5 separate regions of the Homo sapiens genome follow, and all the other regions are linked to region 1. Evidence: promoter capture Hi-C in 16 types of primary human blood cells and fetal thymus (Javierre and others, 2016). All regions are on one chromosome and are shown on one strand. The core of a region is centred on a gene start or on the middle of the fragment in contact, and the rest is flanking DNA. Distances in the headings are between cores, read along the strand shown. Region 1 holds the start of HLF (HLF transcription factor, PAR bZIP family member). Region 2 overlaps STXBP4 (syntaxin binding protein 4). Region 3 has its middle 2.2 kb from the start of SMIM36. Region 4 overlaps STXBP4 (syntaxin binding protein 4). Region 5 overlaps STXBP4 (syntaxin binding protein 4).

Region 1 (2,828 bases), core at 216-2,715:
ATACCGTGGTGCTCAATAAATGCATGTGGCATTAACTAAAAGTTTGCTGTTTCTGGAATTCGTCTGAAACCTGAAACACTGCAACAACATCTCACTTAGAATGTTGCCTTACCCTTTTGCCATAATTTTAGAGTGAGGAAGTAGAGGTCACTAGATTACGTGTCCTTTTATGAAGAACCTACAGCTCAGGGCAGAAAGGCACTTGCCGGAATCACCCTGCCAGGGAACTCTGAACCCCGCTGCGCCGCCGCTCCTGATCTCTGGGGTTTCAGGCGCCTCCTCTCTTACAACCCTCTCCTGGGGAAGTAAACCCCATCAAGACACCACCACATCCTTCCCCAGCGACTCAGCCTGGGGTCACAAAGGCCTTTACGTCCCACTGAAAAACGGTTTTCTTTCATTTGTGCCCATTCGTTCTTGCAGCCCCTTCCCCAGATCGAAGACTAGGGTCTTAGTAAGGAGAGGTAAGGAGGGAGGGGAAGAACCTGCCTGGCCCCCCGCGGAGCTCTGCAGGGGGCGTCGCGGCTGCACGCCAGCGCCCGCACCACCCCAGGCGGGAAGGGAGTTATCACACAGGGGGTCGCACGCAGATCTCGGGGACCGTGGGTGCCACGAGGTCAAACTGGCAGAGGGAGACGCTGCAGCTGCTGTAACAGCAAGGAAAGCCGAAGCCCCCTTAGGGGATACTTTACAAAATTATTTTAATCACCGTGCAAACCTAATAACTTGACCCAAGCGCAATCACCTGTATTCACCCAGAGTAAATATTCCTAAAATCCCGTTCAGTGTGTCTGTGTCTCTCCCGCCTCTTTCCGTTTCAGGCAAATGTCTACCCCCCCTCTCCCCCCACCGTTAACACCTCTCTGCAGCGTGGGAAACAGTGCCCAGCAGCTCAGTCCTCCGCTTCCCGCTCTGCTTTTTGCATCCCATTCGGACTTATAGGAAGTAGTTATTTTTTGGTGGTGGTGGAAACTGGGCAAGAAAGAAGACGCTAAGCTTGGCCGGGGCCAGGAGAAATATTGAGAAGGGTCGTTACCTTCCATCCGATCTAAACCAATCATCTCAAACTTGGCTACTCTTTGGAACCACCTGGGGAGCTTTAAAAATTATGGACGCCCTGATAGCACCGCAGAGGTTCTGATCTAATTGATCTGGGATGCGGCCTGGGTATCGCGATTTTTTTAAAACTCCTCAGGTTATTCCCAGCTTGAAAACTATGGATATAAATTTCTCATTCCTCTTCCCACCCAGACCAAAAAAAAAAAAAAAAATCTAAGCCTAAGTTGATGGCCCAGGGAATCTGGCACCTGCTCCCCTGCAACCAGCCAGTGCTGCAAGGTCCCCGAAAATCGGCGCGAGCGGCGACGCTAAACACGCGGCGGCGGGGCGAGCGGGCCAGGCGGGCGGTGCCGCGCGTGGCCCCGCCCCCGCACGCCTATGGGCGCGAGGTGCGGGCCCTGACGTCACTCTTGTCAGGGCCGCGGCACATGGGCGGCCGGATGCGCTGAGCCCGGCGCTGCGGGGCCGCGGAGCGCTGGGGAGCAGCGGCCGCCGGCGCGGGGAGGGGGGTGGGGTGGGACGGCGCACCGCCTCCGGTGCTGGCACTAGGGGCTGGGGTCGGCGCGGTGTCTTCTGCCCTTCTGCAGCCGTCGACATTTTTTTTTCTTTCTTTTTTTCAATTTTGAACATTTTGCAAAACGAGGGGTTCGAGGCAGGTGAGAGCATCCTGCACGTCGCCGGGGAGCCCGCGGGCACTTGGCGCGCTCTCCTGGGACCGTCTGCACTGGAAACCCGAAAGTTTTTTTTTAATATATATTTTTATGCAGATGTATTTATAAAGATATAAGTAATTTTTTTCTTCCCTTTTCTCCACCGCCTTGAGAGCGAGTACTTTTGGCAAAGGACGGAGGAAAAGCTCAGCAACATTTTAGGGGGCGGTTGTTTCTTTCTTATTTCTTTTTTTAAGGGGAAAAAATTTGAGTGCATCGCGATGGAGAAAATGTCCCGACCGCTCCCCCTGAATCCCACCTTTATCCCGCCTCCCTACGGCGTGCTCAGGTCCCTGCTGGAGAACCCGCTGAAGCTCCCCCTTCACCACGAAGACGGTGAGCGCTGCCGCGGCCCCGCTCCGGGAAGGGACGACGCTCCGGGGGTCCCCCTCCGCGGCCGGGCACGCCCGCTGGAGCATCCCCCAACCCCGCTCCCGCCCTGTCCCGCGGCGCCCCGGCCCCGCGCTGATGAAATTGAGGAGCTCACCCAGCACCCTTCCTCCCCTTCCTCCTCCTCCATGAAAGGGGAGGGACCCCTCCTGAGCTACATTTAAAAGAGCTTCGGGCACCCGGCCTCCCTGGGTCCCGCTCCTGCGGCGCGGGTGGGAGGTGTAACTTGACAGGTCAGGATCGTTCCCTAGAACGAGGCACACCCGCACGCAGAGCGAGCCCGCCTGCGGAGGGCAGAGCCTCCCGGGCTGGGGAGGAGAAACCCTGGGGCCTGGTTCTGTGCGGGGCAGGGGGCGGGGGTCGGCTTGAGGGAGGGGGTTTCACTGCGTAGCCTGGGTTTTGGGGTTGTGTTACAGCTTCTGTTACTGGTTAGTATTTGGAACTCACGAGGTGTGAGAGAAGACTCGTTTTCTTCTGGTGAAGGGTAGCTGAGAAAGCGGGGTGGGGGCTGGGGCCGGTGGGGGGAGTGGTCTCTCGGCGGGAAGCCGTGCACGCCTCCAGCGTTGACACTTTCCCGGTGCACTTTTTCTGGTGGGAGGGGAGAGCGGAGCAGGCTCACGTGTAACCGCGCAGGAGCCTCCTCTGGCTTGAGCCCTTTCTTGGTAAGTC
Region 2 (2,828 bases), core at 203-2,702, 250 kb before region 1:
TTTATTAAGTAATTAGCCTACCCAGTACAATTTTTAAGGAAAGCAGAGAGGTTAGAATTTGATTAAGGAAATTACCTGTCAAGACAATGTCATATATATATATATACACACATACAAACATATATATGTTCAGACATATGTATATATACATGTGGCATTGTCATGAATTCTTTTATATTTTATTGGTTTAAGTAGAGAAATTTATAACACTGAACTAGTTATTTCTTAATTCCTTGTCTGTAAAATGGATTTACATTTGCCTCTTTCTGTGAATACTCTGAGAATGATTTAATATACAGATATTTTAATGTTATTTCAGCATAGTTATTTGTAGTGATATATTTCTTCAAAGTATGAATAGTATATGTCTCATTTGATCCTAATATTAAACTTATAAATATGCATTATAAACTTAGCAAATAGGGATACAATTTATTGCTTGGCTTGAAATCAAAATATCGTACCTCTGCATTATCTGTATATTTATACCTATGGAAGATGCTTTGGGATATGGATGCCATTTCGCTGATATTTACTTTTACCTCTTGCCATTTCTGTAACGTTTCAAGAAAACTGTAGAGAGCAATGGCATACCCAATGTCTCATTATAGTTAATGAAATATTCTTTGTATTAGGCTGAAAGGTGTGTGACTAATATTGTAACAAAGTAATTTTTAAAATTCATCATTCAGACATCAGAAAAACTTCAGCACATTTATTTGTCTAATTAACAAACTTTTATTTTTGCTTCAGATTAAAAGATGACCTTAGTCATTTAATAAATTATTGGAACCAACTTTTTGTTTTACTTTTTTCCCCATACATATTCTGCTTACATATGAGACCTACTTTTTGATAAAACATGTTACTTCCAACTTAAATTTAAGAGCTTACCTAACATGACATGTGGTATTCTTCTAGTGTGAATTTTACTTTCAACAAAACTGTCATTTATTACTAAGCTTAGCTCTATATCAAAGTACACTGAGTTAATTGCATTGTGTAATTTTATTACTTAATGTAAGAATTACCATATATTGAGCACCTTCTGTGATAGACACTTTATTTGCATTATTTTTTTTAATTTTTTTTAAATTTCTTTATATTAAAATATTAATCATGTACAAGAATGTATGTATTATACACATACAGTTTAAAGAATAATAAAACACACATTTACCCATCACCCAACTTAAGAATCAGAACCTTTGACATTGCTAATGTATTTCTTCTTGATCATATGTACCTCTCCCCAAAAGAGGGGAAATTTTGAGTTCGTCATTTCTGTATTTTTCAAAAATTTTCAGTTAATTTAAGTATTGTGGGATCAAAGAGTTTATTTTCTTTTTCTTTTTTTTTTTTTTTTTGCAGTTGCAAGATTTAATAGAGCTCCCATAACAAAGGGAGGGGACCCAAAGAGGGTAGCCATTGGTGGCTCGAATGCATGAGTTTATATCCCGATCATTGTCCTTCCCGCTGTACTCTCAGGCAATAAATTATTGGCTATTTCTTTACCTCCTGTTTTTGCCTAATTAGCATTTTAGTGAGCCCTCTTTACTACCTGATTCGTCGGGTGTGAGATAAGTTGCAAGCCCTGTGTTTAAAAGTGAATGTGGTCAGCTTCCCAGCTAGGCTTAGGGATTCTTAGTCGGCCTAGGAAATCCAGCTAGTCCTGTCTCTCAGTCCCCCCTCTCAACAGGAAAACCCAAGTGCCATTGAGGAGGTTGGCCGACGACCGCTCTAACTGCTTCCTGCTGAACTGGGGTGTAGTAGGGTTTGTGCAGTTGAGATTTCCTCAGGAGGGGTGCCTTCGATGTCATTAACATCAGAGCATGGGCTAGCAGGCCGGTCCAGGGGTCCGCGGTAGATCTTAGTCATGGACTGCATCAGGTGCTCCATTTGAAGAACTATTTATGGTTTTACAGCTTCGATTCTGGAAGAGACAAGCTTAACAAGGAGGTTAAAGATACAGGGATTGAAATGTATAGCCTGCAGTGCAGGGGATTATTTCTTTGGCACACTTCACAGTGCACCATTGGTTACCTTTCCATTGGTTAGCTGCAGGCAAAAGTATTTTTCCTTCTTCGGTGGCTAGCCATCCTGAGGGGAGGAAACTGTGTCCTCATGAGGTTCCCCATTCTATTTCTTCTTCTGAGTACTGGGGCTTTGTTTCCCGGAGGGCATTACCCCATAGTAGGGTTCCTTCTATAAGCATTTCTAATGGAGGGTCCTGCCTTGCAGCTCTTTTTGCTTCAATATCTGCTTGGCAGTTCCCTTCTATTTCCCTTTTCTTTCCTTTCTGATGACCCCAGCAGTGTAAGACTTCCACCTCTTTAGGTTTCTGTACTGCCAGTAATAATCTCCTAATGGCTTCCTGATGTGTGATAGGTGTTCCCTCGGAAGTTAGGAATTCCCTTTCTCTGCATATTGCCTCATGGGCATGGAGGACTAGGTGAGCATACTCAGAGTCTGTATATATATTTACCCTTTTCCTTCTCCTAATTCTAGTGCCCCAATGAGGGCTATTAGTTCTGCCAGCTAAGCACTAGTTCCTGGAGTGAGGGGATTACTTTCAAATATTCCATTATCACTGACCACTGCATACCCCGCTTTTTGAGGTCCTTTTTCTACAAAGGAACTTCCATCAGTATACAAGTTGAGGTCAGGATCAGTCAAGGGAACCTCTAGAAGGTCCCCTCGAGTGGCATAGGTTTGAGAAATTATTTGTTGACAGTTATATTCTATCTTCATTGTCTGGAAGAAATGTGACTGGGTTAAGAGTTGCACAAGTGCACAGTTGCAGCACTGGCCTTTCAAGTAATAGAGCC
Region 3 (2,828 bases), core at 162-2,661, 250 kb after region 1:
GGGCAGTGTGACTGGAGCATAAAGAGAATGGGAGCACAAGGTGGGAGAGGTAGACAGGGGCCAGAAGGCACAGGCACTTGTGGGCCATACTCAGGACTTTAGATATGATCCTAGAGCAATGGGATGCCATTGAATGCTTTTGCACAGGGGAGTGACACTACTGAATTTGCATTTTAAAGAGATTCCCAAAGGCTGCCTCAAGGATGCAGAAAAACAAGCAAATTGAGAGGAAGATCAGATACTGATCGGATTACAGTTATTCCTTGATGTACAAATCACTGTCCTGCCTCAGTTGTAGCCTGGTCCCAATAGTCCCGCATAGGCTACTTCATGGGCATGTGCCCTGTGCAGCTGCACAACGTTCCATTCTCAGAAAGAGCTCACACTTGGTTTAATGCTCTGCTGTTGCCATCTTGAAATTCTTAACTTTTCAACTTTGCACTGGGACCCACAAATTACGTATCTGGTCTTGGTCTCATATATGTATTTTTGGCCAGCTAGGGCATCAGTAGCCTTTTCTCCAATAGCTAATAGGACTTTTTGGATACTCCTAGTTAAAAGCTGAAGTTCCCAAAGGTCTGCTGGTTTCTTAGTGTTAAGCTTCAATGGGCTAGTGTCTTCCTGTCAGCCTCCTTTATACTGAGCTTCCATGGGAACCTGAGCATTTGAAGATGTTGTAGTATGGGGTTCTTATGCATCTGGAGACGTTTTTCCAAATAATATCGTCCATGATTCTATGGTCCTGGACTAACTTATGGAATTATAATCCAGAAGATGCATGATTCTGAAACACCATAGATTTAGGGTCAGCCTTATTGGAATCTATTGGGTCTCTTTTGAATACAGATACCTGGATCAACCCTAGATCTACTGAGTTAGAATCTTTGGGACTAGAGTCTGGGGATCTGTATTAATAAAAATCTTCATGGATAATTTTGATCTGCAACCAGGATGGAGAATCATGGCTATAAAAGTAGAAAAAAAGGACGTGAAGAAAATGGGCCAATATGCGGTCACCAGGGCTTTGGTGATCTGTGAAGAGCTATTCCAGGGGGCATTCAACACAGAATTCAACACTGTCCAAGGTTTTAAGTCCGACAGATTCAGAGAATTAATTTTGTGCTTGCAAGGACATAGCTTTTTCTTCCTGAAGGCAGATCTACAGGAAAAGTCCATTTATAATTGGAAAGTTTCTGGTAAGCACAGAATCACACAGCAAGTAGAGTTGTCTGTTGCATCTGTAAGTCACGTGCAATGCACCAGACAGAAGCGAGGCTTTAAAAGGCAGCATTATGTACCAGATGCCTACTTTCTTTTGCCCACTCGGGACTCTAGATTCGTGACTTCTATAGTAAACTGAGTCTGGATAGCCCAGGTGCCTCCATGTAACAATATTTAGGGGAGTTATTTGGTGACTTTAAATAGATGACACAAGGATTGGTTAAAATTGACTCTGAAATGAGAACTACATATAGTTTAGTCCACATTAAATTAAACTGAAATATATGCAACAGATCTGCTCTATTGAGTGGAGTTTTCATATCAGATCTAGGTTTCTCTGTGTAATGGTGATAATCATTAATCATGGTGAGTGATCTGGTCTGGCCTGTCTTCTTAGATTGCCCCCATTCTGCTGATACCCGTGGTGTCCCGGAATGTTTTGTTCAAGGCTATTGTCTTTGGTTCCAGTATCTTATTTCTATTAGCAGAGAGTTTTTTGTTTCTGTTTCCACCAGTGCTCAAAGTTCATTTGAAGTCCAGTCTCATGAAGGCTTCACTTCCTTGCAATGTCTTCGGTGAAATGCTGGGTGCTTGTTTTACTTAATTAACCTGGGTGGCTCCTTTATTCATACTGGGGCTAACCTCACCCATCTTTCCTTCTTTTGCTGTCTTTAAGGAACTTTCCTCTGGTGCCATCTAGTGGCCAAAGCAGGGGCTGCTAAATAAAGAAAAAAACTTGGCAATAGGCAAACTGGGACGGATGACAGGGTGACATAGGTAAAAACAATAACAAGCTGCATTTCAGAAGAACCCCTTGAGGTAGCCTTGACATACTAATTCCTTCGTTTATTACAAATATGAATTGTGCACTTACCATATGCTAGCAAGGTACTAAGCACTTTAGAGCTTGATAATGTGATACTGAAAGCACACTGTATAACAAATGTAGAGCTCAGAGGAAAAAAGGAATTATCAACCCAATTTTTTAAAATGAGAAAATTGAAGCTTAAAGAGGCAGTGGAATTGAATGAGCTTATTCTCATTCCCTTTTTCCCTCTCACCCTCTCATCTCTCTTTTCTACTGCATAAAATATGAATAAAACAGGTACATGCATAACTTATTCTATGGAGCATTCAAGACCCATTGGGCAGGTATTCTATGGGTCTTCAGTTGTTTACATATTTACTTGCAGTGTAGTTCATTTTGATGGCTGGCCTGGAATATTACTTAATAATACCAGATAAATATGTGTCCCATATAAATACATTTTTAGGTAAGTAGAGTTTATTACTTAAAACAAACATATTTTTGTATATCAACTATTCTGGATGAAAATTTATCTCTGGTATTTCAGAGTGCCTTGCTTCCTTGATAAAATATGGTATCCCAAAAGTCTTAGTGCCTTAGAGAAGTGTCAACTTCAGAGGTAAAAATGTTATAAACTTATTTAAAAAAGCATTGGGAGTTTGATTATTTCACAGTTGAGGACATTCAGGCACAGGGACGTGACTTTCTCGAGTCCAAACAGATAGTAAATGACAGAAGCAAGACATTAAAGCAATGTTTTTGAATTCTAGTCTAGTGTTTTTTTTTTTTTTTTTTTTTT
Region 4 (2,828 bases), core at 168-2,667, 240 kb before region 1:
CTTTGCCCCTCCACCCACTCTGGTAGCTTAACACAAGGGACAGAAACTTGTGGGAACCCTATGGCCCTTCCTATCGCCCAAGATACTAGAGTACGTCCCTTGAGTATCATAAGGCAAGCACAAAGGAAGTGAAATAATGGACTTTGGAGACTCAGAAGGGGGATGGTGTGTGGGGCAAGGGATAAAAAACTACATATTGAGTACAGTGAACACTACTCGGGTAAACAGGTAAACTAAAATCTCAGACTTCACCATTAATACAATTCATCTATGTAATCAAAAACTACTTGTATCCCAAAAGCTATTGAAATAAAAAAAGAAAAAAGTTGAACTCACACTTTCTGATTTGAAATATGTAGTAAGCCTTACTGTAGAGTGAAAAAAGCAAGTTTTAGAAAACTATCTGTAGCATTTTTATGAAGCTAAAAAACCAGTAAAACAAAGTAACATGTTAGGAATACATATGTATGTGATAAAACCATTTTAAAATAAACAGATCAAGAATGATAAAGAAGAAATCAATAGTTCAGAATTCATTAGTATGGTTACCTCTGGTGAAATACCATATCCATATTGTGATATGAATCCAACAGTATTCACAGTTTTATGCTGCTTAAGTGGATTCATAGGTGTTTTATTGTCCTACTTTAAAACTCATGTTTTTTTACATATATGCTTTTAGTATATACCAAATATTATATAATAAAAAATTCATGGGAATAGTAAATCAAATATATGATAAGTCTTACCTCTGGGAATAAGTTCAAAAGGGGTTTTTATATGTTTTGGTTACATTCAAAAACTGAAGTAAATATAGTTGACTGCTAAGCTTTAATGAAGCAAGATAGTAGATATCTATTACTTTATTATAGTATGTCCTATAACTTCTGTATTAATATTTTATAATTTTTTAAAAAATCCAGATAATTCTTACAGCTGCTGAAGTCATTGGCATAAAGCAAAGAGCACTAGCACTTTGTAGCATTGTGTTCCATAGTGAAAAATTGTGTATAATCTAAATGATTATCAGAAGGAGAATGCTTTAAAAAAAGTTCACTTCAGACAGTGTACAAACATAACAATTTTAAAAAGCATGCAATATTTGTAAAATGTACAGAATAGAAAGGAGTAATATATTGATAATTATTAACACTATAGTGTGACAATTTTTGCAAAAAATCCACAATTTATATAAATTTATAGGTACTATATTCATAGAAAAAAACCTGAAAAATTAGACACCAATTGTTAATATGGCAATTGTCTTCAGAGCAGTGGTTCTCAAGGGCAGGGCTGCAGTTTTTCTTCTTGGGACATTTGGCAGTGTCTGGAGACATTTTTGGTTGTCACAGCTGGAAGATAGAGACCAAATTCAAAATCAGTAAAGATACTTCTTAAAACCTCATGTATGAAAATTTAAAACATATTTTAAATAATTTGTGAGTCAAAAACATTGCTAATAAACATGTAAATGATGTTTAATTGCACTTGTAATTAGGGGAATTCAAATTAACAAACAGCATACTATTTCAAATACAACATTGACAAAATAAGAGTGGAAACAGCAGATGCTGTTAAATCTCAAAAAGGAAAAAAAAGAATGTAGAAAAATAGAAATGCTTATTCACTACTGGTGTGCATAAATTAATGAAGCCAGTTTGGAGAACAATTCAACAATATCTAATAAAATTGACCATATGTCCCCTATGGCTTAGCACTTCCTTTTCTAGGGATATAATGTAGAGAAATTTTCACACATTTTTACAAAGAGACATGTATAATGTTCTGTAATTTAAAAAAAAAAGCAGATTGGAGTAGTTATAAAAGCCTGTTAATCAGGGAATGGATAATAAATTACAATAAATTCATACAACGGATTACTGTTCACAGTTAAAATAAGTGAACTAGTTTTGCAGACAATATTGAGCAATTATGAAATCATAAAATTGAGGTAAAAATAAAAATAATTTGTAGAGTTACTCTTTAAGATTATGCTTTTGAGGTAAAAGCTTAAATGCACAAAATAAGAGTACATATTATTAGGGGATACTTGCTTATGTAGTAAATGTCATTAAATTAAGACCAGGAAGAATACTTAGGATAGTAGTTCCTGCTGAGGAATAATTTATAAAAACTTTTAACCGAATATATAGTTTTATTTATTGAAAATATATACATAAATTTTAAGTACATATCAATGAGTAATTGATGATAGTGAGTATATAGGTGTTCTTTGTATTATTATTTTTTGTGTTTATATTTGAAACATTTTTATAACTGAAGAGAAAAAAATACAGAAGCTAAAAATCATTATGCCATGTTATACAATGCAAATACTTGACTACTATACGAGATAAGCAGATGATGCTAGACTAAGCTTAAGAATCATTTTTGAAAGAATCTTTCCTGATATTCTTTCTCCATTCTTCTTTCATTGTTCCCAAATTGCTCACTTACAGATTAACCAGTTGCTTTGTGTATTAATATACCCTATACATACTTCTATTAAATTATGTGTTTTACTTATTTCTTTACAGTTGTTCTCACCCTTGAGACCGTAAACTCTTTGGGGTGAGAGACTATATTTCATTTATCTATCACCTATGCATAGTTTAGTGGCTGACAAATAGTAGGCACCAAATAAATTATTTGATGAATGAATTACTAAATGATTGAACGAGATTCTAAAGGAGGAAGAAATATGTAAGAGATAATTACCAATACTAAACTTTGCCTACATTTTAGTTTTGATGTGATCGACACTATATATGCTCTTGCCATATCCAATAATAGGACATCCAATTAGTCCCTTTGTGTTAGTTAAGATT
Region 5 (2,828 bases), core at 132-2,631, 220 kb before region 1:
CAAAATTGTGTTAATATTTACACATTTGTATTCTTAACTGGCTTCTGTTAGAGCTTATATTTTGAGATTTTGCAAAATTAAGGTAATAAAAAGTATATTTACATCACAATTTACTGTAAATAACTAATTACTTTTAAGTGCCTCATGTAAAGCCAGAAAAATGACTAGGAGCAATATTTTCAGATTGTAGCAATTTGATATTTGGGAATATAGGCCTTGAAACAAGGGACTAAGAAGTCACACTTGTTAATACTTTCATAACAAGTTGTTAATTTGGTGGTTTTTAAATATAGGAAAAATTATTGGAATCAGATAAGCAAAGGAAACAATTGACAGAAGAGCTCCAGAATGTGAAACAAGTAAGTATATGTATTGTGTATATATGTGCTCGTGTGTGTGTGTGTGTGTGTGTGTGTGTGTGTGAACATATGAGGTATAATTATAAAGCAGTGGTTCTTTACAATATCCCAGAGCTTCCTGATACATATTACATAATACAAAATAGCACAGAGCTTAAAAGCAATCACTTTTGGAGGCTGTACCTATGCTAAAGTCTTGCTACTATTGCTCAAAACAATGTTAAAACCTCTTTGAAATTTCTTTGAAAAAAACATATCCATAGACCAAAATAACCAATCTCATTACTTCTCCATTGTTTTTTCTTTTCTTTCATTTCCCCTTTTTTCTTTTTCTTTTTTATTTTGTTACTCATACTTCATTTTACTAAAGAACAAAAAAGTCATCAAGGCAGAGCATTTTTTACATTTATTTGTTAATAATAAAAAGCAAATATTTATTTTCACTTTGCATTATTCTTCAAAGAATTTGAGGTAGCTCACTATAAAACAAATATATGACAATATCATAAAATGAAAACCCAAATGACAAAATATAAATAAGAGAACATTGTTAGAGATCAACAGTGATCACCTGATTTTGAATCTCCCTCACACAGTCCCCCTAGAAAACATAAAATCAACAAAGAAAGCAGATAGAACCATACAGGACCCATATTTTGAATATGACTATGTGACAAAAAAACACCACAGCCTTTAAAGTACATATAAATACAACAAGAAAAATAATAATTCCAACAAAACTTCTGAAGCTTGCCTTTACTGAAACCTGGAATACAGAGAACAGAGGAGGCAAGGCTTGAAAAATTCTGAAATAAAGAGTAGAGAGAAACTATGAATTAGATGAAGAACAAACAAAATCACCCCCAGAAAGAGAAAAGGTAAACATAAATGCCAAAATACTGGCCGTATGTCAAGACTTGGTGGTTCTTAGCACTAGCTACAAAAAAAGAGACTTCAAGGTATGAATGCAATCAAAAATGGCAGCCTTGAAGAATCATTGTTTCTGAGGAAGAACCAGATCAATAGAGAATGGATAGAATTCCTTGGAGACTTCGCAATGATAGGAAAGAAGGAAATAAGAAGGGAAAATTAAGGAGCTTATAGAAATGAAAGCAGAACACAACTTATTAATCCACCCACCCTACCCTATGACCATCAAAACAAGATCCATAGAAGAAACTGCACAGAAGAGAGTGCTCTTGAACTAAGAACTTTTTCTGTGAAATAAAAAAGTATAGAACAAAAATTCTATCTCCATCATTATAAAACGACTGAAAAAGTCAGATGATATCAATGAAAGCTTTCCTCCTGATGAAAACTTTCCAAAACAATTTAACCACAAAACTTAAGAAAAATGTAACGTCACACTCCATACTCAAGGGAATTTCCTCAAATAAGCATTTGGGCTATGAAAAACACATCTCAAATGAGAAACTTAAAAAATAGTAATAATAGATATTGATCACCCCCAAAAAAATCAGGAAAAAGTGAAATGAGAGTTGATAAAACTTAGGAAAGAAGGAAGAGACAAAATCCTATCAGAAATGAAAACTAAATTACAAGTTGCTCCAGGAAGAATATAATCAAGTGAAAAGGCAATGAAGAAAACAAGAAAAGCAACTAGGAAAGTGAAAATATAATCAAGAAGTAAAAGAGTTTCTTAAAGAAATCAATCAAAATAACTGAACAGCCTAATACTTAGAACTATAATCCAAGAAAACTTTCTATAATTAAAACAAGACCTGAATCTAATATAGGTACTGGGGAAATCTGACCTGGAAAGATTACTGTACAATATATTCTAGTAAAATTATTAGACTTTAGAGGAAAATAAATGCACACTGCCTCCAAGTAAAAAGATTAAGCAACTTATGAAGGCAATAGAATTAGACCAGCATTGGGTTTCTCAAAACAACATGCAAAGTAAGGCAATAGTGGAACAACATTTTCAGGACATGAAAGGAAAGAAAGAAAGTATACAAAAATGTTTTATATAGCCAACCTGACTTTAAAATATCAAGGCCATAGAAAACAGTTTGTGATATACCAGTACTAAGGGAATATTTCACACATGATATTCCTGAAGACCTTCAGATAGGATGAGTTTTATCCAACTAAAAAATGCCTAAAATAACTTTGGAAAATGTTCCCAAATGGTGAGAACTTCATATATTTTATTGTACAGGTGAGACTAAAATGAGTCAGTGCATGGATGAAAAAAATAGCATGAACATTACATGTGTTAACAAAAGTCAAAAGATGCAAATTTTTTAATGGGAGGATAAGAAAGAAAAAAGAGGAAAACAGAATACATCATTTTGTTATATAAGCAAAGCGTAGCAGTCAATAAATATTTAAAACTGATATCAGATAAAAATTAGGTAAAAATAGAGGAGATAGCAAGCACTTAAAAAGTAATAATGGAAAGGTAACCTATAGAATGAAAATACAAACCTTCATAAACACCAA

The links. The method cuts DNA at HindIII sites, captures the fragments that hold promoters and counts their contacts. A CHiCAGO score of 5 or more calls a contact.
Region 2: a fragment that was not itself captured here is called in contact with the fragment with the promoter of HLF in region 1 in 4 of 17 cell types (total CD4 T cells, non-activated CD4 T cells, fetal thymus and 1 more); the score reaches 7.4 in total CD4 T cells.
Region 3: a contact is called between a fragment that was not itself captured here and the fragment with the promoter of HLF in region 1, in 1 of 17 cell types (erythroblasts). The highest score is 6.0, in erythroblasts.
Region 4: a fragment that was not itself captured here is called in contact with the fragment with the promoter of HLF in region 1 in 4 of 17 cell types (total CD4 T cells, fetal thymus, total CD8 T cells and 1 more); the score reaches 7.3 in total CD4 T cells.
Region 5: a fragment that was not itself captured here is called in contact with the fragment with the promoter of HLF in region 1 in 10 of 17 cell types (total CD4 T cells, non-activated CD4 T cells, megakaryocytes and 7 more); the score reaches 8.2 in total CD4 T cells.

The regions. Positions count from the first base shown.
Region 1 is chr17:55,263,495-55,266,322 of GRCh38, forward strand. It overlaps HLF (HLF transcription factor, PAR bZIP family member), which reads left to right and starts at 1,466. Exons shown (of 4, transcript NM_002126.5): 1 at 1,466-2,105. The coding sequence starts at 1,991. RefSeq lists a silencer at 1,270-1,589. The HindIII fragment of the contact is 7,530 bases long and covers 995-2,828 here.
Region 2 is chr17:55,010,159-55,012,986 of GRCh38, forward strand. The region is part of intron 8 of STXBP4 (syntaxin binding protein 4); the gene reads left to right. Among named protein-coding and RNA genes, the nearest start is that of STXBP4, 43 kb to the left of the region's middle. The HindIII fragment of the contact is 985 bases long and covers 961-1,945 here.
Region 3 is chr17:55,512,281-55,515,108 of GRCh38, forward strand. It overlaps a transcript of SMIM36 not described here. Among named protein-coding and RNA genes, the nearest start is that of SMIM36, 2.2 kb to the left of the region's middle. The HindIII fragment of the contact is 1,626 bases long and covers 599-2,224 here.
Region 4 is chr17:55,027,257-55,030,084 of GRCh38, forward strand. All of the region lies in intron 8 of STXBP4 (syntaxin binding protein 4), which reads left to right. Among named protein-coding and RNA genes, the nearest start is that of STXBP4, 60 kb to the left of the region's middle. The HindIII fragment of the contact is 1,180 bases long and covers 828-2,007 here.
Region 5 is chr17:55,046,796-55,049,623 of GRCh38, forward strand. It overlaps STXBP4 (syntaxin binding protein 4), which reads left to right. Exons shown (of 18, transcript NM_178509.6): 12 at 294-359. Among named protein-coding and RNA genes, the nearest start is that of STXBP4, 79 kb to the left of the region's middle. The HindIII fragment of the contact is 551 bases long and covers 1,107-1,657 here.